Linked DNA regions of Homo sapiens: regions 2, 3 and 4 are each linked to region 1. Evidence: promoter capture Hi-C in 16 types of primary human blood cells and fetal thymus (Javierre and others, 2016). All regions are on one chromosome and are shown on one strand. The core of a region is centred on a gene start or on the middle of the fragment in contact, and the rest is flanking DNA. Distances in the headings are between cores, read along the strand shown. Region 1 holds the start of SP140 (SP140 nuclear body protein). Region 2 overlaps SP140L (SP140 nuclear body protein like). Region 3 overlaps SP140L (SP140 nuclear body protein like). Region 4 overlaps SP100 (SP100 nuclear antigen).

The links. Contacts are between HindIII fragments. The CHiCAGO score rates a contact against its expected background, and 5 or more counts as called.
Region 2: a fragment that was not itself captured here is called in contact with the fragment with the promoter of SP140 in region 1 in 5 of 17 cell types (total CD4 T cells, non-activated CD4 T cells, naive CD4 T cells and 2 more); the score reaches 9.6 in total CD4 T cells.
Region 3: a fragment that was not itself captured here is called in contact with the fragment with the promoter of SP140 in region 1 in 5 of 17 cell types (total CD4 T cells, naive CD8 T cells, naive CD4 T cells and 2 more); the score reaches 6.9 in total CD4 T cells.
Region 4: a fragment that was not itself captured here is called in contact with the fragment with the promoter of SP140 in region 1 in 7 of 17 cell types (non-activated CD4 T cells, naive CD4 T cells, total CD8 T cells and 4 more); the score reaches 8.9 in non-activated CD4 T cells.

The regions. Positions count from the first base shown.
Region 1 is chr2:230,223,076-230,230,424 of GRCh38, reverse strand. It overlaps SP140 (SP140 nuclear body protein), which reads right to left and starts at 4,689. Exons shown (of 27, transcript NM_007237.5): 1 at 4,522-4,689. The coding sequence starts at 4,580. It also overlaps a transcript of SP110 not described here. RefSeq lists enhancers at 4,100-4,149, 4,170-4,249, 4,320-4,369, 4,600-4,809. The HindIII fragment of the contact is 6,572 bases long and covers 2,432-7,349 here.
Region 2 is chr2:230,386,461-230,393,859 of GRCh38, reverse strand. SP140L (SP140 nuclear body protein like) reads right to left here. Exons shown (of 19, transcript NM_138402.6): 10 at 5,227-5,301; 11 at 3,837-3,941; 12 at 1,631-1,773; 13 at 399-446. Among named protein-coding and RNA genes, the nearest start is that of SP100, 26 kb to the left of the region's middle. The HindIII fragment of the contact is 4,959 bases long and covers 3,523-7,399 here.
Region 3 is chr2:230,368,526-230,376,029 of GRCh38, reverse strand. It overlaps SP140L (SP140 nuclear body protein like), which reads right to left. Exons shown (of 19, transcript NM_138402.6): 6 at 5,063-5,122; 7 at 4,379-4,432. Among named protein-coding and RNA genes, the nearest start is that of SP100, 44 kb to the left of the region's middle. The HindIII fragment of the contact is 5,923 bases long and covers 2,945-7,504 here.
Region 4 is chr2:230,463,446-230,470,666 of GRCh38, reverse strand. SP100 (SP100 nuclear antigen) reads right to left here. Exons shown (of 29, transcript NM_001080391.2): 11 at 6,517-6,600; 12 at 4,313-4,366; 13 at 3,452-3,547; 14 at 1,571-1,624; 15 at 569-652. The region is part of intron 3 of LOC101928816 (a long non-coding RNA gene); the gene reads left to right. Among named protein-coding and RNA genes, the nearest start is that of SP100, 51 kb to the right of the region's middle. The HindIII fragment of the contact is 1,551 bases long and covers 2,753-4,303 here.

The DNA.
Region 1 (7,349 bases), core at 3,440-5,939:
ATAACCACCGCAATTGCTCCTATAGATAACTTCAGTATTGTAAAACCTAAGACTGGGGTTTGAGGTATTTTTCAGACCTTGCATTCTAATGGAACAGCTAATACCACAGGATTGGTAACCAGGTCCTGTGACCCCTACCCAGGAAATGACTCAGCACAAGAACACAGCTTCAACCCCCTGTGATTTCATTCCCAACCTAAGCAATCAGCACTTCCCTGTTCCCCAGCCCCCTGTCTGCCTAACTATCCTTTAAAAAGCCTAGTCTCTGAATTCTTGGGGAGATGGATTTCAGAAACATCTCCCGCTTGGCTGGCCCTGCGATTATTAAATTCTCTCTCTCCTGCAACTCCTACTATTCTCAATGTGTGGCTTTTCTGGGCAATGGACAAGAAGAGTCTAGTTTGGCAATTACAATTTTATATTCAAACTGCAGAATACGAAAGACAGAGAAAATATTGAAAAAAGCCAGGGGGTAGGGAAAAAAAACAAAAAACCCCTACCTGTGAAAGAACAAGGATAAAATTACATCAGATTTCTCATTAAAAACCATGCAAGCAAAGAAAGTGGAAAGAAATATTTAAAGTGATGAAAGAAAAAAAAAGCCTATGTAGGCTTCCATATCCTGTGAAATTAACCTTCCAAGTAAAGTAGAAATAAAGATTTTCTCAAACAAACAAAAACTGAGGAAATTCTTTGCCAGAAAGCCTACTCCATGTGAAAATGTTAAAAGAATTTCTTGACCATCCTGGCTAACATGGTGAAATCCCGTCTCTACTAAAAATACAAAAAATTAGCCAGGCGTGGTGGTGGGCGCCTGTAGTCCCAGCTACTCAGGAGGCTGAGGCAGGAGAATGGCGTGAACCCAGGAGGCGGAGTGTGCAGAGAGCCGAGATTGCACCACTGTACTCCAGCCTGGGCAACAGAGTGAGACTCCATCTCAAAAAAAAAAAAAAAAAAAAAAAAAAAAAGAATTTCTTCATGCAAAGGGAAAAATGATGTGGGCCAGAAACTCAGATTTACATAGAGAAAGAAAGAGCACCAGAGAAGAAATAAATGCAGATATAATAAAATGTTTTCATTTTTCCTACTCCAAGTTAACCTAAAATGAAGCCATTTATTCAAATTAATAGAATCAACAACATATTGAGTGGTTATGGGACATAAATAAATGGAATGACTGGAAGCCCTCCTGTTCTTTTTAACATTGTCAGTCATTTCACAATGTTAAAAAGAACAGGAGGGCAGAATTTGGGACATTCAGTTGCATGGTGTATTCTCTACTCATGAAGTGATATAGTGTAATTTAAAATGGGCATGATTCGCTGTAAATATATATTACAAACTTCAGGGAACCACTAAAAATGTTTTAAAGGAAGTATAATTGATATGCTAAGAAGGGAGAGAAAATAGAAGCATAAAATGCTCAATTAAACCAGAAAAGGCAGGAAAAAAGGAAGAAAAGATAAAAACGATAGGTACAATGAAACATTTACAAATGTGGTAGATATTAATCTAACTATATTAATAATCACTTTAATGCCAATGGTCTAAAACACCAATTAAAAGACAAGAGATCAACAGAGTACATAAAAAACACAAAACACCCGACTATATGTTGTCTATAAGAAAGTCATTGTAAATATAAAAATACAGATAGGTTAAACATAAAGGGATGGAGCAAGATATACCATGCCAACACTAATCAAAGAAAAGGTATAGTAGCTATATCAATTTCAGACAAAGAAGCTTCAGAACAAGGAAAATTGTCAGGGATTAAAGAGGGACATTACATTATGATAAAAGGGTCAATTCTCCAAGAAGGTACACAATCCTTAATGTGTATGCAACTAACAAACTAATGGCAAAATGTATGAGGCAAAAACTGATAGAACTATAAAGAGAAATAGACAAATTCACTACTATTATTGAAGGCTTCAACACTTCTTTTTTATTAATTGACATATCACACAGGCAGAAAAATCAGTAAGGGTGTAGTTGACCTGATGAGCAATAGCAATCAGCTTGGTCTAACTGACACTTATACGGTACTCCATTTAACAATAGCAGAATGCATGTACTTTTTAAGCTCACATAGAATATTTGCCAAGATGTACTTCATTTTGGGCCATAAAACATACCTTAACAAATTTAAAAGAATAGAAATCCTAAAAGTTTGTTCTCAGACCATAAACTAGAAATCAGTAACAGAAAAATAGCTGGAAAATTCCAAAATATTTCCAGATTAACCAAAAGAGTTCTAGGGTCAAATAAGAAGTCCTAAAAGAATTTTAAAAATATTTTGAAGTAAATGAAAAGGAAAACAACTTATTAAAATGAATGGGATGCAACAAAAGCAGCACTTAGAAGGAAATGTATAGTATTAAATGCATACAATAGAAAAGAAGAAAGATCTAAGTCAATAATCTAAGCTTTCATCTGAGGAAACTAGAGAAAAAAGGAGCAATTTAAGCCTGATGCAAGCAGGAAAAAAAATTAAAATTAAAGTGGAAGTTAAAAAAATTGAAACAGGAAAACATTCGAGAAACTTAATGAAACCAAAAGCTGATTTTCTTTTCAAAGAGTTAATTAATAAACCTCTAGCCAGCCTAACAAAGAAAAAAATAGAGAAGACGGAAATCATCAGAATGAAAGAAGGGTCATCACTACGAATTCCATGGACAATGGAAAGGTAATAAAGGAAAACTATGGACTCTACACCTACAAATTTGGTCACAGATGAAATGAACAAATTCTTTAAGAGGCAAACTAACCAAAACTTGCACAAGAGATAGGTTGTCTGAATAGGCCTACATCTATTAAAGAAATTTGAATCGATAATTAATAGCCCTCCAGAAAGGAAAGTACTAGGCCCAGATGGTATCACTAGCTAATCCTACCAGATATTTAAGGAAGAAATGACATCATCCTCCCCAATTTCCTCCAAAAATAAGAGCAGAGGCAACACTTCCTAACTCATTCTTTGAGGTTAGCATTAGCCCATTGTCACCTCTCAGTGCCGTCTTCTTCCTGCTTGGTGACCATGGGCTGGCTGGACTTTGAGCTCCGCTGGCTCATCTTCCCTTCACTAGAGAGCAAGTGAAAGAGAGATGACAGGGATGCCTGTCTGGGAGTGGTGGCACTGGGCACTGAAAACCAGTCTGGTGCCACCACTACTGCTGATAATAGCAATAGCTTTTGCTTTCTTGGGGCTGTACCAGCGCCAGAAGTAGCCTTAGCACAGAGTCCCAATTAGACAAGTTTCCATACATTTTTACATTCCACACATTTTCATTTTTATCAAGAATGTACAGTCATCCCTTGGTATCCAGGGGGAATTGGTTCCAGGACCCTCCATGGATACCAAAATCCATGGATGCTCAAGTCCCTGATATAAAAGGTGTAGTATTTACATATAACCTATGCACATCCTCCTGTATATTTTAAATCATCTCTAGACTTATAATACCTAATACAATGTAAATGCTATACAAATAGTTATACTGTATTTTAAATTTTTATATTACTTTTTATTGTTGTTATTTATGTTTTTAATTTTTAGAAAATATTTTGCATTCATGGTTGGTTAGATCCATGGATACAGAATCCACAGATAAGAAGAAATGACCGTATTGATGTACTTGTCTTTTTTTTTTTTTTTTTTTGAGATGGAATTTCACTCTTGTTGCCCAGGCTAAAGTGTAATGGTGTGATCTTGGCTCGCCAAAACCTCTGCCTCCCTGGTTCAAGCGATTATCCTGCCTCAGCCTCCTGAGTAGCTGGAATTACAGGCATACACCATGACACCCAGCTAATTTTGTATTTTTAGTAAAGACAGGGTTTCTCCACGTTGGTCAGACTGGTCTCATTGTCTTACATTTTTTAAAGATGATTTCCAGGCTTCTCTGACCAGATATGTAAAAAATACCAGAACAGAAGAATAAAAAAAGCAGAAGCAGCACTCACTCTCTACCTGCTTGCCTTTTTTGTTGGGTCTCATCTGCTTTCACTTCCTCCTACCAAGTATTCAGAGATCCTGAAGTGATTCTAGGGCTAAGAGCCACATAGATGGGCTCAGAGCAGAACCGGTCCCCAACTACACAGCCTGGAAAGTGTGACAACAGACAGGCGTTTGGATTTTAATTCTTCTAAAAAGATCCTTTTTAGACAGAGTTGTCTTTTGGAGTGGGGATAAAGGAGGCCTGGGGGAGAAGAGAGGGTTCAGAGGTCACGGGGAATCATCCAATCCTACACAAAGCCTCAGAACAGGCATGATGTTCAAACAGCTCCAGTCCAGCCATTTGCAGATGTAAGAGAATAGGAAGATGATGTGAGTCACGGCATCCTTGAGTTTCTCCAACAGCCAATCCCTGCAATTTAAAAAATCTGATTGCCTCGTTATTTATTTGTAACTGAATTCTATTGTATACCTGTAGAGTGAAGCTGGGTAGACATTAAATAACAAGTATGAAAGGGAACCCTACCAGAGATGAAGGACAGACGGGAAAGGAGACGATGACCCACCTGAAGTTGAGATTGCTGTCTCCACTTGCCATCTGCCCCTGCTGGCCCTGCTGGGCCATGAGCTTGGCCTAGGATCACACCCGATTCGATTTTCACTGCCCCGTTCCTTCCTGCAGCTCTGAGGTGAAGCTGCCAACTGCCCCTCGGTGCTCAGTCAAAGAGGAAAAGAAAAGTGAAATTGCCTAACTAGCTGACGTGGGTGCACCAACTCTACAGTCCTCCCTCCACCCAATCTCCATGACGTCTCTCAGTCAAGGGAGGAGGAGCAGAGCCAGCCCCACGAGGCCACGGAAGACAGGGTCACTTGTTCCTGCCAAGGAAAGAGGGTGGAAAAGTCATTCAACTCAAGCAGATCAAAGTTGTTTTGAGGTAAGGTGGCATCATGAGGAGGAAGTAAACTCTGTATTTGTCCCCACCCCTTGCTGAGGTGGCTGAGAAGGACAAGTGAAGACCAGACATTTCAAATCTTCAGTCAGGCTCCAGGGCTGGCCATGCACCTTAGTGAGCCTGGGCTGGATGGCTTAGGCCCAGTGTTTGGACATGGGGCCAGGGAGAACTGAAATAGCATGCATTAGAAAGTGGGGGAGATGCTCTTAGCACTCCATGAAAGCAGACAGAGGTAAAAGACAACTCTCTCAACTCCTCCAGCCAAAGGCAAGTGCTGAGGTTGGGCAGAGAAATGAGGTGCAATTCTAAGTTTTCTCAAATATGTGGGCACTTTACAACAGCAGCCAGGGGTGACTGGGAAAAAAATGAGCTTCAACCATTTCACTGAAATCTTGAGGAGAGTGACAGCCTTCTCACTGGATGGGGAAAGGGTTTGGAGCTGAGATTATCTAGACCTTCAAGGACAATATGATACAGGAGGATAGCTGTATTACATTTATGTTTGCACACAATTTTTCATTTATACCCAGCCCTCATTCTGTAAAGGATTTGAAACAATTTACAAAAACACACTATATCAGCATAAAGTCGAGTGATAAACAAATGGAAGCAAAGGGCAAATATAAAAAATATAACCACAGGACTAGAAATCCAGGCAGAAAAATGGGTCAAAGACAGGGGGCTGATGAGAGCCAGGGTATGGGTAGAATCCAGGGCCAGTGACAGAACAGTAGTGAGGATTGAAAAGCCAGAGGCAAAGCAGTATTTTTCCAAAACATGTGCTCCTGAATCCTACTTTTTCTGGTTCATTACACATATGCAAGGAAATTTGCATACATAAGTTTGCAAAATACAGAGTGCAAGAAATTTCTACCCCTTCCACACTTCTGCTTTCTTTCTACCAAAGGAACAAACACCAATCTGGTTGAGACAAACTCTAGAACACTGATGAGGACACCTTTTCCAGTATCTCTCTCTCTCTCCTCTCTCTCTCTCTCTCTGTCCTCTCTCTCCTCTGTCTCCCTCTCTCTCCCTCTCTCTCCCTCCCTCTCCCTCCCTCTCCCTCTCTCTCCCTCCCTCTCCCTCCCTCTTTAAAACAAGAAGGAAAAGTATGCTGGGCTTCTGTTAGACACAGCTGTCCTCTCCTCCCAGTCTCCATGGGGCTCCAACAAGGCCTGGTACAGACTATACCGCCTGCTCCAGCATCCCCTCTCTCTCTTCTCTCTGCCCTTAGGCAGTAGGCAGACCCAGGACACCAATGAACTGGACATTTTTGAAAATGTGCCAGCTTCTTTTGCTTATAAGCACAAGGCCATTGGTGTTCCTCAGCTGACTGGTGGTAAGATTGGTACTTCAGGGGTACTGCTGCTACTACTAGAAAGCCCTACTTTGCAACACCATGCATTAGCCCAGGTAAGGATAGCCTGAAATTTCAGTTCTATTTCCCACTATCTTGTTTTTCCCTATGCTCACTACAGAACCTCTCCTGGGTAAGGGATTCCTGGGCCAGGCATATGTAGGACCATCAGACCATCTCTGGTTCCCAATGTCTTCCTTTACTGCCACGTGACCAGTGGAGTCAGAAGGCTCCGGCCTGCCTCCTGGCTCTGTTCCCCCATCCAGATTTAGGCCAAGTAGGTCATAATCCCCAAAGGTAAATCAATGCTTTCATTCTACCTGGAAGATTTCTCTTCATTTTGCTAAGCATGCTAGAATCTGACACCTGGAATTGGGGAAATGAATTGTATAGAGTCTTGATCACAATCCAGTGCTGTAATTTAATTTGCCAACTTACCCCTATTTGCCCACAACTCCAAAATTCCTGACTCTGAACGCTAATGGGGATGTTCACTGTTTTTATGTCCAATTATGTCAGATAACCAATCCCAGATTGATCATATTTCCTTGAATATCTCTTGCCTATAATTCAACCTCTGGTGCCCAACATTTTTATCAGTCAGGATTTGGGAGTAAAAGTAATCCAAACTGACTCTGGCTAACTCAGGCAAAAAGTCAATTTCTTAGAACTATATTGGGTAGCTCACAGAATGTATGGGAAAGCCAGAGGACTAGGTTAAGAAAGTAGGCAGTCCAGGCAGGTTATATTGACTCACTTGCCCTTTGTCATAATATAGTTGAAAGATATCTGGATCACCTGGACATCCCATAGAATGTCAGACTGGGCTGGGCATGGTGGCTCATGCCTATAACCCCAGCACTTCGGGAGGCTGAGGCAGGCAGATCACGAGGTCAGGAGATCAAGACCATCCTGGCCAACATGGTGAAACCCCATCTCTACTAAAAATACAAAAATTAGCCAGGTATGGTGATGCGTGCCTGTAGTCCCAGCTACTCAGGAGGCTGAGGAAAGAGAATCACTTGAACCTGGGAGGCGGAGGTTGCAGTGAGCCAAGATTGCGCCACAGCACTCTAGCCTGGAG
Region 2 (7,399 bases), core at 4,753-7,252, 160 kb before region 1:
AATAACATCAATGAAAAAAATCTGATTTTGAGTTGGAGATGATACTCTCACCTTATTATGAAATATTTTTATGTATTCCATGACCGTGTTGGATTTTCCAACTTTGACACTCTTACAACATCTGTATCTATTGCTGAAACACATTCAGGAGGTTTGTTTTGAGGGCTCCTCAGCATCTCCATCTGATACGGTTTAATCCAAAGAGGACCTAGCTTTATATACACAAAGTATTCAAAGTAGTAACTCTGAAAGTGTATATTAAAAAAATTTATATGTGGGAAGTGGAGAAGGTGAAAGCTTAATTATAGTTACCCAATTGGAGACTCCATAAAATAAGATGTTGTACATGTTAAATCTGTTGTGTGACAAGAATCTGTAGAAAATTATGTAATAATCACCTTTTTGTTCCTGTAATATATTCTTGGAGGATTAGGTAGAGATCCTTCCTGAAAGATAAAAAGACCAAGGTACATAGTCAGCCTGCGTTTCTGTTTTGTGAGTCTGGCATTTCCAACCTCTTCCCAAATACTTCTACCTGAGTGTTCCAATGCCAGCTCAAACCCAGTGTGTCTGAATGAGAAACCATCTCCCTGTCTTCACCTGTGCTTCTAGACTCCAATCAATAGAAGCCAGAAAATCATTTTCAGGACCATTTTCCCTTCTCTTGTGCTTCTTTCCTAAGTCCTAAGAGGTTTTCATTCATAATCTCATACCATCTATCACTTCTTTTCCAGTTGCACCAGTGCCACTCCAGCTGGAGTTCCTACACCAGAGCTATCCAAGCAGCACACACTTATTGCATGCTACTGGGTGTCAGTCACTCTGATCAATCTTGGGTACATGAAGATGGGAAAACCTAAAGGGGTCTGCAGACAAAAAGCACTCACAGAAGGATAAATATAAATAGTGAAAAAAGGGCATTAGTAGGGGCTCAGGAACCCTGGGAAGGGAGGACCCATGGCTATAGGTCAGTGAATATTTAAGGAAGAGGGTAACATTTGAGCTAAGCATTCTAGACTGAGTATAGGTTTGCTAGCAGGGGAGACAGTGAAGGCATTTCAAAGCCCCATTGCTGTCTAAAATACTGTTTTAAATGTCATTTCCAATCTCAGAAGATTTCACTGATTGTTGCTATCAATTACAGATTTGAATTACTTAGCCCGGCATTAAAGTGCTCCACAGACAACCCCAGTTGCTGAATTGTGCCTTATTGTACACAACCCATCTACCTAAATCCACAGAGCTGTTAATATTTTTACTATGGTTCTTGTTTTCATGCCATTCTGGTTTTCAGGTCATTCTTTCTCTGAAGTGTCTTCTTGCCCTGCTTGACTATCGACTCTCTTCTTTTTCTCAGTGCACAAAATTGTCCACATGCACCCTAGTCAGAATTACCCTTTCCTCCTCCAAGCTGCTGAGTCTATCCTGATGGAGCCCCTGGTACAACATCAGTGTGTTGCACTGTAGTGTGGTTATGGATATGGGGTCCCTCTCTCCTGAGTGAGAGGATAAACTCACTGGCATCAAGGCTTTAGCTATAACCTAACAAATATTTGGTGAATAAACAGTCTCCTCATTATTAGGGAACAAGAAGAATGGGCACAGGTCTGGCCTCTTGTCATTGGAATACCTCCATCAGCCGTCGTAGGGGCCACCCGCCACAGCGCACACTCAGCCTCCAGTTCTTTGATCTTGCGTAGCCTCCTTTGATTTCAAATTCCATGGGGGTGAACCATTTTCCATCCTCAGTCTGTATACACTTTGCCAAGGTTCCTGTAAGACCAGGGTAACTTGATCCTGAGCCCTCTTTGTTCCCAGCGCTCAGACTGTGGCCACTCACCACATTGGATCTAGAGCCACCCAATTTGTGATGAAGATCAATAGCAGGAGGGTCTGGCCTTCCCTCTCAGACTTCAGAGGCCCCAAATCCAGCCTGAAAGTCCCCTCTAAGTATATTTCCTGGTGGGGGTGCACATGTCTTTGACCTTCACCCATGAGGAGAGTGATGGTTATCAGCAAGAGCAACCTTTTAAGCATTTCAAAAGCACTTACAGAAGGAAAAGCAAGTGATTCTGAAAGATGAGAGGACTCCAACTTGCTGTTGAATTCTGGGAGTAGAGACCAGGCCTGAGTCTGCAGATGGCTCTGGAGGCAATGTGGAGGCAGAATCCTTACTTAGGGGTACAGTCTGAGATAGGTGCCCTGTGGCTCAGGAGGCCACACTGGCAACATATGCACCTTCTATTACAACATTTTTCATTCAGTTTTAGGGCATTATTGAACAGAGATTTTCTCATCTGTGCAATCATGGGCAGCTGATATTAAAAAATAATTGTGAAATGTTACCTAATAGAAAAATTAAGTTATATATAAAAGATAGTCAACCCCATCAGCCATTAGGGAAATGCAAAGCAAAACCACAATGAGATACCACATCACACTCACTAGGATGATCATAATAAAAAAGACAAACAATAACAAGTGTTGGTGAGTGTGTAGAGAAATGGGAGCCTTCATACATTTCTGGTGGGAATATAGAATAGTGCAGCTACTGTGGAAAACACTTTGGTGTTTCCTCAATAAGTTAAGAATAGAATTACCATTTGACTCAGCAATTCCTTTCTTGAATATACACTCCAAAGAGCTGAAATATGTTCACACCAAATTTGTTACATAAATGTTCAAAACAGCATTATTTATAACAGCCAAAGAGTGAAAATAACCCAAGTTGATGAATGGATAAACAAAATGTGGTATATCTATACAATGAAATATATGATTTATCAAGAAAAGAAATGAAGTACTAATACAATATGAATGAACTTTGAAAACATCATGCTGATTAAAAGCAGCCAGTCATGAAAGGGGATGTATGATAGGATTCCATTTGCAGAAAATGCCTAGAATAAGCAAATTTATAGAGCAGAAAATAGATTAGCAGCTGCTTAGGGCTGGGCATTGGGGTGAGGTGGGAATGGGCATTGACTACTAATTGACATGGGGTTTTCTTTAGTGAAGGACAAATTGTTCTAAAATTAGGTGATAATAATGGCTGTACAATCCTGTGAAAATACAAAAAAAATCATTGATTGGTATACTCTAAGTGGTGAGTTACATGATACATGAACTGTATTTCAGTTAAGCTGTTAAAAAAAGTCACAATGAAAATGTTTATATTAATTGGTGCTCAAAGAGCCAAGTTAAGAGAGGTCTGAGATGAAGGCCATTCTGATAGACATTTTTGACAGTTTTATAATTTTCAATCGTAAAATATTTTACATTAATATGTAAATTAATTCTCACAGCTACATCATGAGGTAGGTTTTTAATTATTGTTCCCTCTCTTGGATGAGAGATTTCACATTCAGAAAGGTCCCCTTCTCTACTCAGAATGGAACAGTCATTCCTGGCACAGCCAAGGCTGGAACTCAGGCTTCCTAATGTTAAAACCTGTGATCATCACCCAAGCCAAGCACCCTGCCTTGGTGACAGCACTCCAGAAGGGAGAGAGAATATGAAGCTTGAGGTTGAGGGCCTCTTCCCTTTTCTGTCTGATTCAAAGTAAAATACCTGACATTTTCCATCTGTGAATTGACGTTCCTGCCTTCTCTTTTGTTCTTTGGGTACCCCCTGGACACTCCATGTGCGAGTCAGCGTCTAATGGGTGTGATTTCTTAAAGTCTTAAAATGTCATCTTAGGGATCCCTTCCTCCTTCCCTCAAGCTAAACTGGGCCCAAAACTCCTTGAATGATGTGTAATTCACACAAATAATTTCACCACTTCTTGTGATGCCTTCAGATAGGAGCTGCAAATTAAAGAAGACTATGAAACCCACCTTGTTCCAATTTCTCCTTATGTAAAATTCCCTTCACCCCACCACAGGTCACTGGAAGTAAAGGAGCCTGAAAATCCACAGTTTCATCTTTGTGCTTTCTTGAAGCTGAAAGAGAGGATTTCTTCATTCTGTCTCACTTTGCAAAGGCACATCCCCCCTTCCCACTGAGGTAAATCCTATAAAGGCACAAAGAGTACTTAGGAAATTCTATTCCATAAATCTCTAGAGTTTCAAAGTCTTTCTTCCAAGTGGCATTTTTGATCGGTAACTACAGAATGTGTGCCCCAATTTCACCTTTCAAATTTCACAGAAAATTGAATGCTTTATCAGAGAAATTAGACTTCAGTAAAACTGTTTTAACTTCCAGTGTAGTAAGCTCCACTGATTCTTATATGACAATGAAACATACAGTTGTTGTCATTGGTTTGATGGGCGCTCTCCAGCTATTCTGTTTTGCTGCAGTTAGGTAGCCAGAGATGAAGCCAGAGACCATAATCAGTCTCCCATTTGGGCACTGACTGGTCAAGGAGGGAGAGGCTAATGATGAGATAACCTAATGGAGACAGCACCTGCCTTCTACTTTTATTCTCTGCTTTGCTCCATTTTCCCCTCCTATCAGCTTTCTCCACAGCTGAGAAAGGAGCTCAGGGAGCTCTAGAATAATCTGAAAATTGTACCTAGCAGGGGGTGGGGAACTGAGAACCGGATACTACAGAAGTAGGTGTGAAAGTTTTTCAAAGAAAAACTCCAGGAGGATGAGCAGCTAATCCTGCCCTTCCAAACAGAGGTGTAGAGGCCATGATGGGCAGGGGAAGCGGTCTTTGGTCCTGAGACTGGTTTTGAAAAGGGCACACTATTTAGACTGGGATGGACTAATAAGAAGGGTGGTTGGCCTAATTCATCCTCTAGCTTCTCAGATGAGGAAACCAAGGCAAAGAAGGCCAAGTGGTCAGCACAAGATCACACAGTCAAAGATTTTTTAAAAAGCCAAAAAGCCTTAGGACACAGATCTCTAACCACAACTCTGGTTCAACCTTAGTGTGCAACATGTGGCTTTCTGTGTAGCCAGAGGAAGATCAGCTAAATCACTTACGGGTTATACCCTTTATACAGCAATGGCCTATCTTCAGCCTTGAAATTTATCATTTCAGTGGAAGTAGCACTTTAGTGACCCCCTGGGGCCCCAGGGTCTGGTTGTAGATCCATCACCAACTTACTTCCTTCTTTCCTTGATACATTTTGGAAAATGACTTAATAAGATATGTTTTTCAATAGTTAGTATAGCTTCATAAAACAATTAAAGAAATAGGTTTATTACTGAAAATACAGCATAAAGCACAGGAAATTAGATGTTTAGTTATTGAAAGTGCATTCCTCTTTTCTTTTTTACCTCTTGATCGGACTCTTTTCTGTGGAGCTCTGTCACTCTGAGTAAAGTGGGTTCCAGGTTTGCCTCTCTTTCTCCCTGAGAAAGTAGAATAATAAAATCACAGTTACAAATGAGCAGCTGTGTTACATATATTGCTGCTTTTCAAAAATTCCATTTAAATGTAACTTTCCAAAAGCCTGTTTAATATATAAATAAAAAGATTTAAACCCTAGCCTTTAAGGTATGAAGAATTAGATAGCTAATGTTAGGTTCACTTTATATTTCATTTTCCTATTCTTACATTAGAAAAAAACTAATTGAAATCAGTATTTCACATATAACTCAAACAACAGTATAAATACTTCATTCCATATTTTGAAGGTTCATTTCATATTTTGAAGTTTCATTTCATATTTCATTTCAAATATATATTTGAAATATATATATGGCATATAATATATGTTAAACACACATCCACTAATTTAATCTTTGCAAGATCAAAATGATGATTACTGTCATTACAGAGACTAAAATATTCAGAGAAAATTGAGACAAAACTACAAAATTAAGTGAAGGTGTTTGGGTTTCTCTTAGCAGAGACACAAATAAATGGCAGTTCTGTGAGTTAAGGGAAACCCTATTAGGTGCTCCATAGGTGAGATGTATGCTGCACATATCACATTGGGGGAAGATATTTGTACCCTTGTGCTGAAAGTAATAGTAAATGTGACCAGGGCTTCGTTCACATGGCTTTGGAAAAAATAAATATTAGGATCTAAGAAACTAATCAGAAGAAGGTTAACCATGAGGAATGGGTAGAATTGAGACTTCCACAGCCTTCATTCCAAATAGTAATTAAGGATTGACATGGCAGACACTGCAGCCGACGACGTTCTCCCAAGTGCATGTTAATTGGCTGTGAGTGGGCATCTCAATGTTTACTAATGTTCAAATGTGTTTTATTTTCCAAAGCAGGAAAGCAAAATGTTCCTTCCTCCTTGTGCTGGATGTCCACCATCCAATGACCACCATCTAGGGATGCTGGTCAGGGTCATGTAGGCCCCATGGAAAAATATTTTCCAACCTACTTATTCCTAAGTGCTCTAAACTCTAAGCATATTATGAGCATATTAGGCCAGCAAAGTAGAAAGGACCAATCGGACCCAAAGTAGACCTATGGCTTGGTAATATAATTCCACTTTCTGGTCTTTAGACTACACAGTTACTGACCAGGTTTTTACCCATTTAAGACCCAAATGGCCCAAGGAACCAATATTGATAATTACAGACATCTTATCCCAAGATCAAACAAGTTTCAAATTTGCAAGTTGTCATCCTGTTAATATTTAACCAAGATAACAGGCACTCAAAGAAGAGCTTTAGAAGAGTTTAATAAACTTGTATAGGGAGGTAGGAGGCTTGTATAGTAACAGCCAAGGGCTAAGAAAAACTACTAAAGAGGTGGAACTGTGGTTCTCCAAGACGCATGTTAATCTTTTTGCTCCATCTTGCTGCCTGCCTCTGGAAGATGAGGTTTCCAGGCAATAGAACATCAGCCACACAGGTGTGGCTCTCTGAGAAGCTCTCCTCCCCTCCTCTCCCACGCAAGATGCCAAGTGGACTCTGGAAGTCCAGGACATCTCCAGGTCTCTCCTCTTCAATGCTTCACCCCTCCCTCCTCTCCTGAGGGTCCGCACTCACCGTACAGTGAGAATAGATCCAGATGTCATATCCTTGCTGCTCTTTTCCCTCCTATATTCCAGCCAGGCTTGGCACTAGAGCTCTGGCCACAACCTTGAACAGTCCAGCTAATACAGAGTTATTTCTTCCTTTCTCTCTAGCTGTTTCTGTCTGGTTACATCTTTTCTGGGACTAGTGGGTATGTCGGATTTAGCTTTCATTAAATCTGTTTAGGCCTCATATTTTTAGGGAGAAAAAAGAAACAACATGAAGTCTACTCTAGTCTATGGAGGTTTTGGTACAGAACAAACTGGAGCTTAAATCCAGCAAATTCATAATACAGCACTACTGTGTTTTACTCTCAGAATCAAGTGGCTGAGCAAGGCAGGATTCAAATATTATTGTGTCTCAGGCTGTAATACCCATTTAACAATACTGAAACCCTAACATAAACCTTAATAAATACTATGGTGGTCAGAATATAATTTAAAGTTGTTTTAAAATAATTGTTATG
Region 3 (7,504 bases), core at 4,657-7,156, 140 kb before region 1:
TAAAATTCAAAGAAGAAAACAGGGAAAAACTCCTCGATTTTGGTCTGGGCAATTATCTTTTAGATAAGACACCAGAAACACAGGCAACAAACGCAGAAATAAGCAAGTGGAACTGCATCAAACTAAAAGATTTGTACAGCAAAGGAAATAATTTTAAAAATGAAAAGGCAACCTATGGAATAGGAGAAAATATTTGCAAACCATGTATTTGATAAGGGTTATTGCCCAGAATATATAAGGAACTCACATAACTCAATAGCAAAAAACAAAACAAAATCATGTCATAACCTAATTTAAAAATGGGCAAAGGATCTGAATAAACTTTTTCCCAAAGAAGACATATAAATAGCCAATGGGTTATAAAAAAGCACTCAATATCACTAACCATCCATGAGAGAAATGTAACTCAAAACTATAATGAAATATCACCTCACACCTATTAGGATAGCTATTATCAAAAAGGCAAGAGATAACAAGTATAGGTGAGGGTGTGGAGAAAAGGAACCCCTGTATGCTGTAAGTGGGAATGTAAATTGGTACAGCCATTACAGAAAAGAGTATGGAGGTTTCTCCAAAAATTAAAAATAGAAAAACATGCCATTCAGAAATCTAATTTGGGGGTATGTATCCAAAGGAAATGAAACCAAAGAGATATCTGCACCCCCATGTTCATTGCAGCATAATTCACAGTAGTTAAGACATAGAAACAACCTAAGTCTCCATCAACAGATGAATGGATAAAGAAATGTGATAAGACACAGATCTGTGTATATTGGAAAATATATATAAAATCATGTTTCAAATCAAGAAGAAAAAAGTATTGGGGTTATATCTCTTAATTATCATCTCACATCATACACCAATAAATGAATTCTATGTGTGTTATAGATTTAAACATTAAAAAGTATTTCAAATATTCTACAAGCAAGTAAAAATGTTTTCAAATTATGAGGAGGATAATATATTTGTAAATTGTACACAAAACCTGGAAACCATAAATGAAAAGACTGACAGATTTGATCAGATAAAAATTTCAAACATCTTTGGGATAAAACATATAGGTATATCTTAGAAATATTGCACGTTTGGTTTCAGAACACTGCAATGAAGTGAATATTGCAATAAAGCAAGACACAATTTTTTTGGTTTCCCAGTGCATATGAAAATTATGTTTATACTATACTGTAGTCTATTAAGTATTCAATAGCATTATGTCTTAAAAAATCAATGGGCATACCTTAATTAAAAATACTTTATAGCTCAAAAAATGCTCACAATCATTTGAGCCTTCAGAAAATCATAATTTCTTTGCTGGTAAAGGGTCTTGCCTGGGTGTGGATGGCTGCTGACTGATCATGGTGGTGGTTGATAAATGTTGAGGTGGCTGTGACAATTTCTTAAAATAAGACAGTAAAGAAGTTTGCTGTGTTGATGGACTTCATGAAAGATTTCTCTGTAACATGTAAAGCTATTGATAGCATTTTACCACAGTAGATTCTCTCAAAACCTGCTGCTGCTTTATCAACTAATATATTCTAAATCCTTTGTTGTCATTTCAACAATGTTCACAGCATCTTTCCCAGGAGCAGATTCCATCTCAAGAAACCACTTTCTTTAATCATCCATAATAAACAACTCCTTATCACTCAGTTTTATCATGAGATCACAGCGATTCAGTCACATCATCAGGCTCCACATCTTTTTTTTTTTTTTTGAGATGGAGTCTTACTCTATTGCCCAGGCTGGAGTGCAGTGGTGCAACCTCTGCTCAGTGCAACCTCTGCCTCCCGGGTTCAAGCGATTCTCCTGCCTCAGCCTCCTAACTAACTGGGACTACAAGCACAAGCCACCACGCCCAGCTAATTTTTGTATTTTTAGTAGAGACAGGGTTTCACCATATTGGCCAGGCTGGTCTTGAACTTCTGATGTCAGGTGATCTGCCCGCCTTGGCCTCCCAAAGTGCTGGGATTACAGGTGGGAACCACTGCAACCTCCACTTCTAATTCTAGTTTTCTTGATATTTCCATCACATCTACAGTGACTTCCTCCACTGAAGTCTTAAACCCATCAAAGTCATCAATAAGGGTTGTAATCAACTTCTTCCAAATTCCTGCTAATGTTGATATTTTGACCTCCTCTCATGAATCATGAATGTTCTTAATCGCAATGTGAAATGGTGAATCCTTTCCAGAAGGTTTCCAATTGACTTTGCCCAGATTCATCAGAGGAATCACTATATATAAAGACAGCTATAGCATTACAACATGTATTTCTTAAATATTAAGACTTGCTAGTTGAAATTACTCTTTGACTCATGGGCTTGCTGAATGGATGTTGTGTTAGCAGGCATGGAAATAGCATTAATCACCTTGTATACCTCCATCAGAGCTCCTGTATGACTACGTGCACTGTCAATGAACAGTGATATTTTGAAAAGAGTCTTTTTTTCTGAGGAATATGTCTCAATGGTGGGTTTAAAATATTCAGTAAACCATGCTGTAAACAGATGTGCTCTCATCTGGGCTTTATTCCAATTATAGAGCACAGGCAGAGTAGATTTAGAATAATTCTTAAGGGCCCTAGGACTTTCAGAATGGTAAATGAGCATTGGCTTCAAGAGAAAGTCACCTGCTCCATTAGCCTCTAACAAGAGACTCCTCCTGTCCTATGGAGCTTTGAATCCAGGCATTGACTTCTCCTCTCTACCTATGACAGTTCTAGACAGAATCTTCTTTCAATGGAAGGCTGTTTAGTCTACACTGTAAATCTGTTGTTTAGTGTTGCCAACTCTATCAGTGACCTAAGCTAGAGCTTCTGGACAACCTGCTGTAGCTTCTACATCAGCATTTGCTGCTTCACCTTGCCCTTTAATGTTATGAAACAGCTTCTTTCCTTCAACCTCATGAACCAACTGGTGTTACCTTCAGACTTTTCTTATGAAGCTTTCTACATCTCACAGCCTTCAGAGAAGTGAAGAGAGTTAAGACCTTACTCTGGATTAGGCTTTGGCTTAAGGGAATGTTGTGGCTGATTTGATCTTTCATCCAGACCACTCAAACTTTCTCCACATCAGCAATAAGACTGTTCTGCTTTATCATTAAAGTGTTCACTGGAGTAGCACTTTTAATTTCCTTCAAGAACTTTTCCTTTGCATTCATAACTTGGCCAATTATTTTCTGCAAAAGGCCTAATTTTCAGCCTATGTCAACTTTTGACATAGCTTCCTCACTAAACTTCATCATTTCTAGATTTTTATTTAAAGTGAGTACATGTGACTCTTTCTTTTTTTTTTTTTTTTTTTTTTTGAGACGGAGTCTCGCTGTGTCTCCCAGGTTGGAGTGCAGTGGCGCGATCCTGGCTCACTGCAAGCTCCGCCTCCCAGGTTCATGCCATTCTCCTGCCTCAGCCTCCCAAGCAGCTGGGACTACAGGTGCCCGCCAACACGCCCGGCTAATTTTTTGTATTTTTAGTAGAAACGGGGTTTCACCGTGTTAGCCAAGATGGTCTCGATCTCCTGACCTCGTGATCCGCCCGTCTCGGCCTCCCAAAGTGCTAGGATTACAGGCGTGAGCCACCGCGCCCGGCCGACTCTTTCTTTAACTTGAGCACTTACAGGCCATTGTAGGGTTATTAATTGACTTAATTTCCATTTTTTCATCTAGGATTTTCCTATCACTCTATTTAAAATTCTTCCAACCTCTTTCCACTGCGCAATCTCAAAGACACCCCAACACTTTCAGGAATATGTGATAGCCACACCCCACTGCCAAGTACTAAAATCCGTATTACTCTTAATTGCTGCCATAACAAATTACCACAAATTTAGTGGTTTAAAACAACACAAATATATTATCTTCCAGTTATGTCAGTGAGAAGTGTGACACGGGTCTTACTGCCTAAAGTCAAGGTGTAGGCCTTCATTCCTTTCTGGGGGCTGGAAAGGACAAACTATTTCCTTGTTTTTTCAGCTTCTAGAGGTCATCCACATTCCTTGGTTCCCTCTTCCATCTTCAAAGCCTGCAACATTACATGTTTCTGATGACTCTTCCATAGTCACATTTTCCTTTCTCCACAGCCAGGAAAAGTTCTCCACTCTTTAAAGCCTACAAGATTAGATTGGGCCCACCACATAACCCAGGATCATCTCCCCATTTCAAGGTCTCTAAATTAATTGTATCTGTAAAGTCCCGTTTGCCATGTAAGATAGCAGATTACAGGTCCAGGGATTAGGAGGTGGACGTTTTTTGGGGTGGCCATCATTCTCTCTACCACAGTATTGCAAATAATAACAGAAACAGTAACAATGACAAAAAGAAAACTCTGGCATTAAAAATGTATTTGTAACATCAAAAGCAAGTAAATTCTTATTTATTCTTACTTCTTTTCCTCTTGGGTTTTCCCAAAGTAGAGTTGTTTGCAATATCCACAGTATCTAGAAAATAACAAGTGGTAGTGAGGAAACAGAAATTAATAAATAAAAGTTATAGATTTTAGGACAATTCATACTATAGAAGGCTTGAGTTTATAAAGATGTTTGGTTACTCATTTCTCTCTTTCTTCTAGAGGAACCAAAAACCCACTGAACTGAGAACTAGGAGTCTAGGATGGGCCCTGGGTCTTCTATCAAAAATACGTGTTGGGCTAAGAGTAGACCTGCAGTCTTCCCCCCTGACAATTAATACCAGGATTAGTTGTCTTTTGGGTGAGGCCTTTCTAAGGTGTAGCAAAATGACACTATTATCTACTAGCAGAAGTTCACTGGGTTATCTTGGGTTCCATGGAATATTGAGTGTGACTTAACATATTAATGCAATAAACAGGATAACTGCCACTTTAAAGAGCAGCACCATTCTATGACGTCATCCATATGTAATCAACAGAGCCCATCTTGATAAGTAAAACTTTATAATGATCTCTTGCCTCTCTGCAGTTCCCCAAAGGCTTGGGTGAGGCAAATGCACAGAACAGGATTCTGGGCGGACTGGAGCACCTGCCTCCACTCTTCCCAGGGTCTGTGGGGCCCACTGAGCCACCCCATCCCACAGCCCTCAGGCAGCCTTACCCATTTTGCCACATGCTTGGTCACTTTCCTTCCTTGCTTCCGGGCTTTCTGGCACTTCTCCTGAGAAACACATGACATAGGAACACTTCTCATTTTCACATGCTGGTCGCTCTGCTCCCGGGGCAAAATTGTGATTTATGAACTTTTAATTTGCCCCAATAACCCTCTTTTCTGCACCCTGGTTGCTGCCCTCTTCTCTACTTTTTCCTCCGAAATCTTCTTTCACTTCTCCTCCCTATATTTGACTCTTCCTTTAAGTCTCCCTTTTTGTCCTCTTTTGTCTTTTTTTCATTATCAGAACTCTGTTTCTGTTTTTAATATTTTTAAGTCATAATTACTTGGTACATCACATCATAGCAAGCTAGAAGCAAGCTCTTCTGATTCTCCTTCTTTGGTCATTTGGTAATTTTCTAGTTCACCAGATACTAATGAGAAACAAAAAAGTTATTTTATTTTTATTTTTGTATTTTATTATCTTCCAGTTATGTCAGTGAGAAGTGTGACACAGGTCTCACTGCCTAAAGTCATTATGTTAGTAGGCCTTTATTCCTTTCTGGGGTCTGGAGAGGACAACCTATTTCCTTGTCTTTTCAGCTTCTAGAGGTCACACACATTCCTCGGGTGACCTCTAGACAGTGACCAGAGAAGAGTTCCCAGTGCTGTGATGCTGGACACTAATATTCTGAGCCAAGGTGAAGTGCTCTCTGGAAAAAAATATACCCGCTCCAATAATCACGCCTGACACATAACAGCCATGCTCTCCCCATGTTTTGCACCTCCTTCTCCTTTTCTTTACTTTTATTTTTCTACTTGTAGTCCTGAGAGTAAAATAGAAAAAATTAAAAAGCTCTTATCATTCCAGAAAATACTAATGTTCTTTGAAAACAGTAAGAAGTGGCAGGGTGCGGTGGCTCATGCCTGTAATCCCAGCACTTTGGGAGGCTGAGGTGGGCAAATCACTAAGTCAGGAATTCAAGACCAGCCTGGCCAACAGGGTGAAACTCTGTCTCTACTAAAAATACAAAAATTAGCTGGGTGTGGTGGCGTGCGCCTGTAATCCCAGCTACTTGGGAGGCTGAGGCAGGAGAATCACTTGAACCCAGGAGGCAGAGGCTGCAGTGAGTGAGCCAAGATTGTGCCACTGCACTCCAGTCTGGGTGACAGAGAGAGAGACTCAGTCTCAAAAACAAGAAAACAAACAAACAAAAAGAAAGTAGTAAGAAGTAACTGTTTCAACTTGTCCTAATTGGCCATTGATTACTTATATCACTAATCATTTCTGAGAGCTAGCCCATCAGTGGCAGTCCTACACATCTGAAGGCCAGCCAATCAGCCGCAGCCCCCTCCAGAAAGCCCGTGTTGATGGCTAAATGCTAAACTATTCATACACTCCTGTTTCTGAAAGTCTGTAGTGCCTGAACTATGTTTCCTAAAACTCTATATAAAATCAGCAGTTTCCTTATTTGTAGATACTCCAGCTGGTACACATGGTCTGAACCTCCAAGCTCACACTGAACCCAGGCTGAATCCTGAATCCCCAGGCTCCAGGCCAGCCCTTACAGATGCAGTCTTCAGCCTGCCCCAGCACTACTTCAGCCTCAGTGAACCCAGACTACTACCAGTGGCTCTGGCCTTCAGTCTCATCCCAGTACCAAGCTGCCTCTCATGCACTGGTCTTCAGGCTCACTGAAGTGCCTGAAGATGGCTGCACCAGTGGTGTAGATCCCTGCAGACTCTGGCTCAAGGCCTGCCCCAGCATAGACCTGCCCACTGATTATCCTAGGCACCTTCAGCAGCAAGCCTTTCTTTGGTCTATGCAAGATGTAATTCCTAGAATTTCTAAGTAGGGTGAAAGGCTTTCCCAGACAAAGCCAATCTACAGAGGCTGAAATAAGTCCTTACTTCCTTAAATGCACAGATATAAATGCAAGGTAATAAGAAATGTGAAAAGCCAAAGAGACATAACACCATCAAAAAGACACAATAATCTCCTCATAGCTCACCCCAAAGCAATGAAGATAACAAACTGCTTCACAAAGAATTTACAATGATTGTTTTAAGGAATCTCAGCAAACTTCAAGAATATACCAAGAAACAATTCACTGAAATCAGGAAGACAATAAATGACCAAAATGAGAAATTTAACAGAGATTGAAATTATTTTTAAAAAGAAACAGAAATTCTGGAGCTGAAAAATACAATGAATAAAATGAAAAAATGCAACAAAGAGCATCAATATCAGAATTAATCATGTAGAGGAAAGAATTTGAACTCAGACAGGTTGTCTGAAAATACAGCTAGAGAAGGAAAAAGAAAAAAGAATGAAAAGTAATAAGGAACACTTACAGGATTTATGAGACTGTGAAAAGAGCAAATGTTTGAGTTGCAGAAATTCATAGAGGAGAAGAGAAAGACAAAGGGATAGAAAGATTATTTAAAGAG
Region 4 (7,221 bases), core at 2,279-4,778, 240 kb before region 1:
ATGGGTATAGTTAGCCTGCCTATGTCTTAAAAATTTTGTGATGACAAAATAAGATATTATTTGCCAAAAGACATTGAAATAACACAATATAATCCAATTACATGATGAAGGACATCTACCAAAAACTATACTAACGTTTGAGAGTGTTTGATCTGAAGTTTTTATTTCTGTCTATAATTACATAGTAGGAACAGTTGTCTTTTGAGGCTTTACAATTACAAATGACAATGATGTCAACCCATTTATCACTATAAAAATCTAAGATCTTAGTGTTAATAGGAATGAGAGCAGGTTTAAAAAAAAGAATACCACAAATTTGCTATTTATTTCTTCTACAACAACAAAATATAATTACATACATTTAGTCAGTGAAACTCTTTCTGTTAAACATGAGTTTATCATAATTTCCTGCCTCTTTCCATTTTCTAAAATGCAAAAAGGAGTTCCCAGATGAACTGGATACAAGGTAGTGAAGGTGCTCAGAATAAAAAGCGTCTGGAAACAGCAGCTTTTAATTCACATTCCTGACATTCTGCAGGCCAAGTCTTGGCATCCTAATCTTCTTTACCTGACCCTCTTCTTAGGGATGAGCTGCAGGTTTCCTGAAGCTCTTCTCCATTACTCAGGTCTGAAAAGTCACTACTGCTGAAACCTGCAGAAAAAAATAAAATTCCTTAACAGTCTTAGTCTGAGTCTTAGGAATCAGCAGGGAATTCTTTAAAAGCAAAACTGAACAAGAGAAGCTTGTGGAGGAGGGGGAGAAATAGTCCCACCACTAGGCCACCCTTTGGCTTTGATCATCTGACCTGTTGGTCAAGATTGCTCCAGGAGCCCTCTCTGAGGCTGGGGCTGGGGATGACATTGTTTCTTCTTCTTTTTTTTTTTTAACTTTGGGAAAAATATGTATTTATTATAAATCATCCATTTCATTGGGTGGTTTCAAATTAAGAAAGCAATATATGCTTGTCATAAGAAGACCAATGAATGCAAATGTATATAACCCCAAAGCTCTCTTTTCCTACCCTATTCTGTCTCTGGTCTCCCAGCTAGTGAAGTCAACAGATCAGTGTGGATCCTTCCATCGTTTTCTCCTATCTCATTCATGCATAATCAAATAAAAGGAACATACATAATGTTCAATCTTTTCTGAATACAATCCTAGGACAACGTTGTTTCTTACGCTTCTTAGGCTTTCATTATTAGTTTGCACATACTTCTGCTTCCATCTCAGTTTCTTATCCAAGGGAACCATGGAAGCAACATCTTAAAGATGTCAGAGCCCCCATCAGCTGGGCCCTGAATGACTGTGTGGGCACCCCCTCTACTCAGGAACTACTTTATCCTATTTATGTGAGTGAAAAATAAACTTATGTTGCACTTGTGCCTTTGAACATTTTGAGGCTTATGTTTTATACCAGCCCAACTCATCTAATTGAAAATGTAAAATGCAAATCATCTAAAATCCCAACAAATTAATTTTTTATTTTAAAGGATATAACATAAAAAGTGAATGTAGCTTTTGCAGCAAATAAAGACATTTGTTACATCAAGAGTTTTTAATTGCTCTTACGTCTCTTCCTGCTGGGTATTCTCCAAGTAGATGTACTTCTAGAAGTCATAGGAGCTAGAAAGTAAAGGAAAACCAAATCAATAATATCTAACTAAAAGATCTATAAATCTTATGACTGCTTACACTGTTGACAGAATTTGGACTATAAATATTCTATGAGGATCATTTCTGTCTCTTCCCATCTAAGGGAAAGAGATTACTATCAAATGGAGCACAGACCCACAATCCTTTAGCCCTAATTGCAAAATCAATGACTTTTTTTTTTTTTTTTTTTTTTTTGAGACAGGGTCTCACTCTGTCAGCCAAGCTGGAGGGCAGTGGTGCAATCTTGGCTCACTGCAGTCTTGACCTTCCAGGCTCAAATGATCCTTCCACCTCAGCCTCCCACATCACTGGGACTACAGGCATGCACCACCACCATGCCCAGCTAATTTTTTGCATTTTTTGGTAGAAATGGGGTTTTGCCATGTTGCCTAGGCTGGTCTTGAACTCCTGGGCTCAAAAGATCCACCTGCCTCAGCCCCTCAGCCTCCCAAAGTGTTGGGATTATAGGCGTGAGCCACCACACCTGGCCTCAAAGATATTTTAATAACCAGTATTGTTTTCATAGGTTTGCAGCTAACTAATTTGGCAGTGAATCTGGACTTGAGTTGCCATGAGTCCGTGTAAAATCTTATCATATTTGGTGTGAATATTTATATAATTTGCTGTATAAACATTAGTATATTTGAGAATGGGATTCTTCCCTGGATCCTACTAGGGTATTTTGTTGTATATAGAATATAAACCACATTGTCTTTCTAAAATAATAAAACATTTTTTGAACTTTGAAGTACATCTGGCTTTGAAGGTTTTATAGAGGATTATGAATGTTTATTAAGAGTTTGGGTTGTTAGTCTTGTCTCCTCCTATAACTTTCCATATGTGATGTGCAAAGAAAAAAGATCCTTAAGTGTGCCTTAGTTTCCCCATCTGTCAAATGGGGGGAACAATAGTTATCTCACCCACCTTTTAGGTTGTTGTAAAGATGCAAGTAGATCTTATTTGTAAATATATTTTCAAATATCACTATTTGGCCAATTTCATGTTGGGGGCCATCTGTCAAAAGCTATGAATTGAATCTGATGGTAAGAAACAGGAGGCTTTCTTTCTGTCAATAACTAGAGAGTATGACCAGAAGCTTTGGAATTTTGAACAAGTTGGTGACAAAATCAGGCAATAACAGACTAGTGTACTTTCTTTTCTTTACAAAACAGAGAATGAGCAGAAGTAGAAATCACTACATAAATCCAATACTTTGGAGTTAATAGGTCTGGCAGTGATATGGTTTGGCTGTGTCCTCACCCAAATCTCATCTTGAATTCCCATGTGTTGTGGGAGGGGCCTGGTGGCACGTAATTGAATCATGGGGAGAGATCTTTCCTGTGCTGTTCTTGTGATAGTGAATAAGTCTTACAAGATCTGAATGGTTATATAAGGGGGAGTTTCCCAGCAGAAGCTCTCTTCTCTTGTCTGCCACCATGTGAGACGTGCCTTTCACCTTCTGCCATGATTGTGAGGCCTCCCCAGCCATGTGGAACTGTAAGTCCATTACACCTCTTTCTTTTGTAAATTACCCAGTCTCAGGTATGTCTTTATCAGCAACATGAAAATGGACTAATACAGGCAGTATGTAGTAAACAGGCCACTGCCACTCAACCACAACCATCTTGTTAAGCCTGAATTTAGAGTGACTTCTTTCTTTGCATTTTTCAAAATGGCCAGATGAGGTAGATGCAGAGAACTGGCTCCTGGATAGCTGTTGTGTGTGCTCAGAGCACAGTGCATCAGGGAAGAGGTGCTCTGAAGTCAGAGCCCTGAAGTCAAGGGAGCTGTTCTTACCCTTCTCACCATGCTTGCTTCTCAGTGCCCCGCTCGAGGCTTCTGCGGGCGCCTCCTCCTCACTGGATTCTGAAAAGTCGTGGTCTTGTCCTATCACTGCAGAAAGGAGCAAATGTCCTTTGGAGCTCTCAATGTATGATAAGGGAACCAAGTCAGAATAATATTCTATGAAAAGGAAACTAGGAAAATTTGTGATGCTCTGAAACTTCAGGGCAAGAATGTCCGTGCCTCAAACCTCCATGATCTGCCTTTTCATTCAGATTTGTGTGGCTCAAGGTTAGTATTTTATCCCTCACTGTCACCTGAGCCTGAGGCTGAGAAAATTTTAGCCCCAGTGGGCATCTCTGCTTTGTCTTGGCCCTCTGTCTTCTTACACCACATTATCTTTCTTTCTTTACTTGTCCCTTTATGGTTTTGTTGTGGTTTTTGTATATGGATTTGTATTTATTTGTAAATTTGCTTCTCTCTCAGGGCAACCATGAAAGTCTAGGATGGGAGAAGGCAGATCTTCTACTTGCCTGCTTCCCTGAAGAACTGCTTGAAACAGAGCCCAACCTTTCCCTCATCTAAAAATCCTTGAAATATTCAGTTGAAAAAAATACAAACTTCTACTAAAAAAATAAAAAACCTTCTGTTGTGTTGGGGTCATTGACTTCTTTGGGTTCATATGTTATAGCAGTTAGCCAACCTCCCTAATACAAAGGCTAAAATAGGAACCATTGAAATTTAAAGCAAATTTATATTTTACTTTGAAGGATATAGCAAGGAATTAGACTGACTCTTTTGTAGAAAATATTGTTCATTTATAACCATGAAGAGAAGTTATTTTCTCTTACCTCTTTTCCTAAAGCTTTCTCTTACCTCTTTTCTTAAAACTTTCTCTGAATGTAGATAATTTTCTGAAATCCATGGGCTCTGTAAAGTAAAAGGGAGAAACCCGTTATTTGTATGCAAGAGACTTATAAATTCTATGACAACTGACATGGCAAATGGGCTTGGGTTAATAACAAAGTTTTTTTTTTTTTTTTTTTGAGATGGAGTCTTGTTCTATCACCCAGGCTGGAGTGCAGTGGTGCAATCTTGGTACACTGTAGCTTCTGCCTCCCAGGTTCCAGTGATTCTCCTGCCTCAGCCTCCTGAGTAGCTGGGATTATAGTTGTGCACCACCAAGCCCGGCTAATTTTTGTATTTTTAGTAAAGACGGGGTTTCACTGTGTTGGTCAGACTGGTCTCGAACTCCTGACCTCAGGTGATCCACCTGCCTCAGCCTCCCAAAATGCTGGGATTACAGACCTGAGCCATCGTGCCCTGCCAATAACAAAGTTTTGATGAGCGTTTTTCTCTCTCTCCTTCTAGTGAATCCAGTTCTGGAGGTTCAGGGTCATAATGTTGGGATCCTGCCCAGCTCTCTCCATAATCCTCTGTGTGTATTATTTGGAAATGCCTCTTTTTAATTAATTTTTTCAACTTCTATTTTAGGTTTGGGGGTATATGTGAAGGTTTGTCACATGGGTAAATGTGTGTCACAGGAGTTTGTTGTACAGATGATTTCATCACCCAGGTATTAAGCCCAGTACTCAATAGTTATCTTTTCTTCTCCTCTCCCTCCTCCAACCCTCCATCCTCAAGTAGACCCCAGCATCTGCTGTTTCCTTCTTTGTGTTCATAAGTTCTTATTATTAAGATCCCACTTACAAGTGAGAACATATGGTATTTGGTTTTCTGTTTCTGCGTTACTTTGCTAAGGATAATAGCCTCCAGCTCCATTTACGTTCTCTCAAAATACATGATCTCGTTCTTTTTTACTTATTTTTTTTGAGACAGGGTCTCACTCTGTCACCCAGGCTAGAGTGCAGTGGCACAATCGTAACTCACTGCAGCCTCAACTTCCCAGGTTCCAGTGACTCTCTCACCTCAGCCTCCCGAGTAGCTGGATCACAGGTGCACACACACTACCATTCCTGGCTAATTTTTTTTTTTGAGATGGAGTCTTGCTCTGTCACCCAGGCTGGAGTGCAGTGGTATGATCTTGGCTCACTGCAACATCCCTCTCCTGGGTTCAAGTGATTCTTTGGCCTCAGCCTCCCGAGTGGCTGGGACTATAGGCAAGCGCCACCATGCCTGGCTAATTTTTGTATTTTTAGTAGAGACAGGGTTTCACCATATTGGCCAGGATGGTCTCGAACTCCTAATCTCATCATCTGCCTGCCCCCGCCTCCCAAAGTGCTGGGATTACAGGAGTAAGCCACTGCACCCGGCCCATGCCTGGCTAATTTTTGTATTTTTGGTAGAGGTGGAGTTTCTCCATGTTGTCCAGGCTGATCTCAACTCCTGAGCTCAAGCCACCTACCTGCCTTAGCCTCCCAAAGTGCTGGGATTATAGGTGTGAGCCACTGCGCCTGGTCATAAATGACTCTTAAACACCACTAGCTCCCATTTTCTCACATATAAAGCAGGGATAAACTAGTTACCCTACCTCCCTGTTAAGGTTTTTGTGATGGGGAAATGAAGGTTCATTTTCAAAAGCCCTGTGAAAAATCACAATGTAAGCCAATAAGTGAACTATAATTTGGGTTTGGGTGTAGTTGAAGTCACTTTTTTTTTGCCATTAATAATTAAATAGCAGCACAAAGTATTCTTTGAAGACTTTCTGAGCTTGTGATTAAGACAATAATTATCAATGAACAAAGGAAGACTGTGCTTATCATGCTCTATCAAATATAAAGGGTAGTAGTAGAGAATAAGTACATTATTTCAACTCTTGAAATAATAACTCTTGATAGTTTGTTGTTAAAAAGACTGTTATTTTACTAGCATATTTTTGCTACATTTTCAATGTATCAATCGATTGAACCAATCCAGTTAAACAAGAGTTTATAACACCTTCCTAATGTCTTCCATTTCTCAACAGGGCCAGAGAGGTTAAATGTAGAAAGTGATATTCTAGAATTTATGGAATCAAGGCATAAGGAGACCACTCAGAATGAAATTAATCAAGAAAACAGAGCTCTGGATTTGTACTCTGGATATTCTACAGTCTCGGGTTGCAACTCTAATATTCTTACCTGGTACAATCTGGGGTCGTGAGCAAGTGGCTTCTTGGCCCTCCTTTTCATCATTTGATTCTAAAGGGTTGTCATTATTGATCACTGCACAAAAGAATGGGATTCTTTAGAGGTCTCAGTGTGTGACCAAGGAATCAGTTCAGTAGGAAATTCCCTAATAAGAAAACCTGGAAAACCTTGAAAATCCGTGCAAGTCCTCGCCTGTACACAGGCCATGCTTGTCTTGCCTTTCAACTAACCTTCATTGTGGGTTAGTGATACTCCATTCTTGTCCCCAGAGGGAATATTTGCCTTGCTTGGCCTTTGCTTTCCCACGCTTCTTTTACTTCTTATCCCTTCTGCTTGCCATTCCACATTTCCTTTGTTTCTGCTTCTATTTTTCATGCAGGGGGACCTTGAAGATCTTCTGTTAAATTCGTGAGCTTTTTCTACCTCCCACCAACCCAGTGCCTTGCTGAATTGTTTACAAGGCTGAGAAATAATCTCCTCATGTATTTGAGCCAAAGACATATTTTGGGACTATTTTTTACAGCAGATTGCTTACACTAAGTTCAAAGTTAGAGTACATATTGTCTAAAAACTAATGCAAATTTACATTTTACTTTGAAAGATACAGTGAGCAATTAGAATGAATGTATTATTACATTGTTATTTTATAACATCAAGATGAGGTTCTTCTTTGCTCTTAGGTCTTTCCCTAGTGTA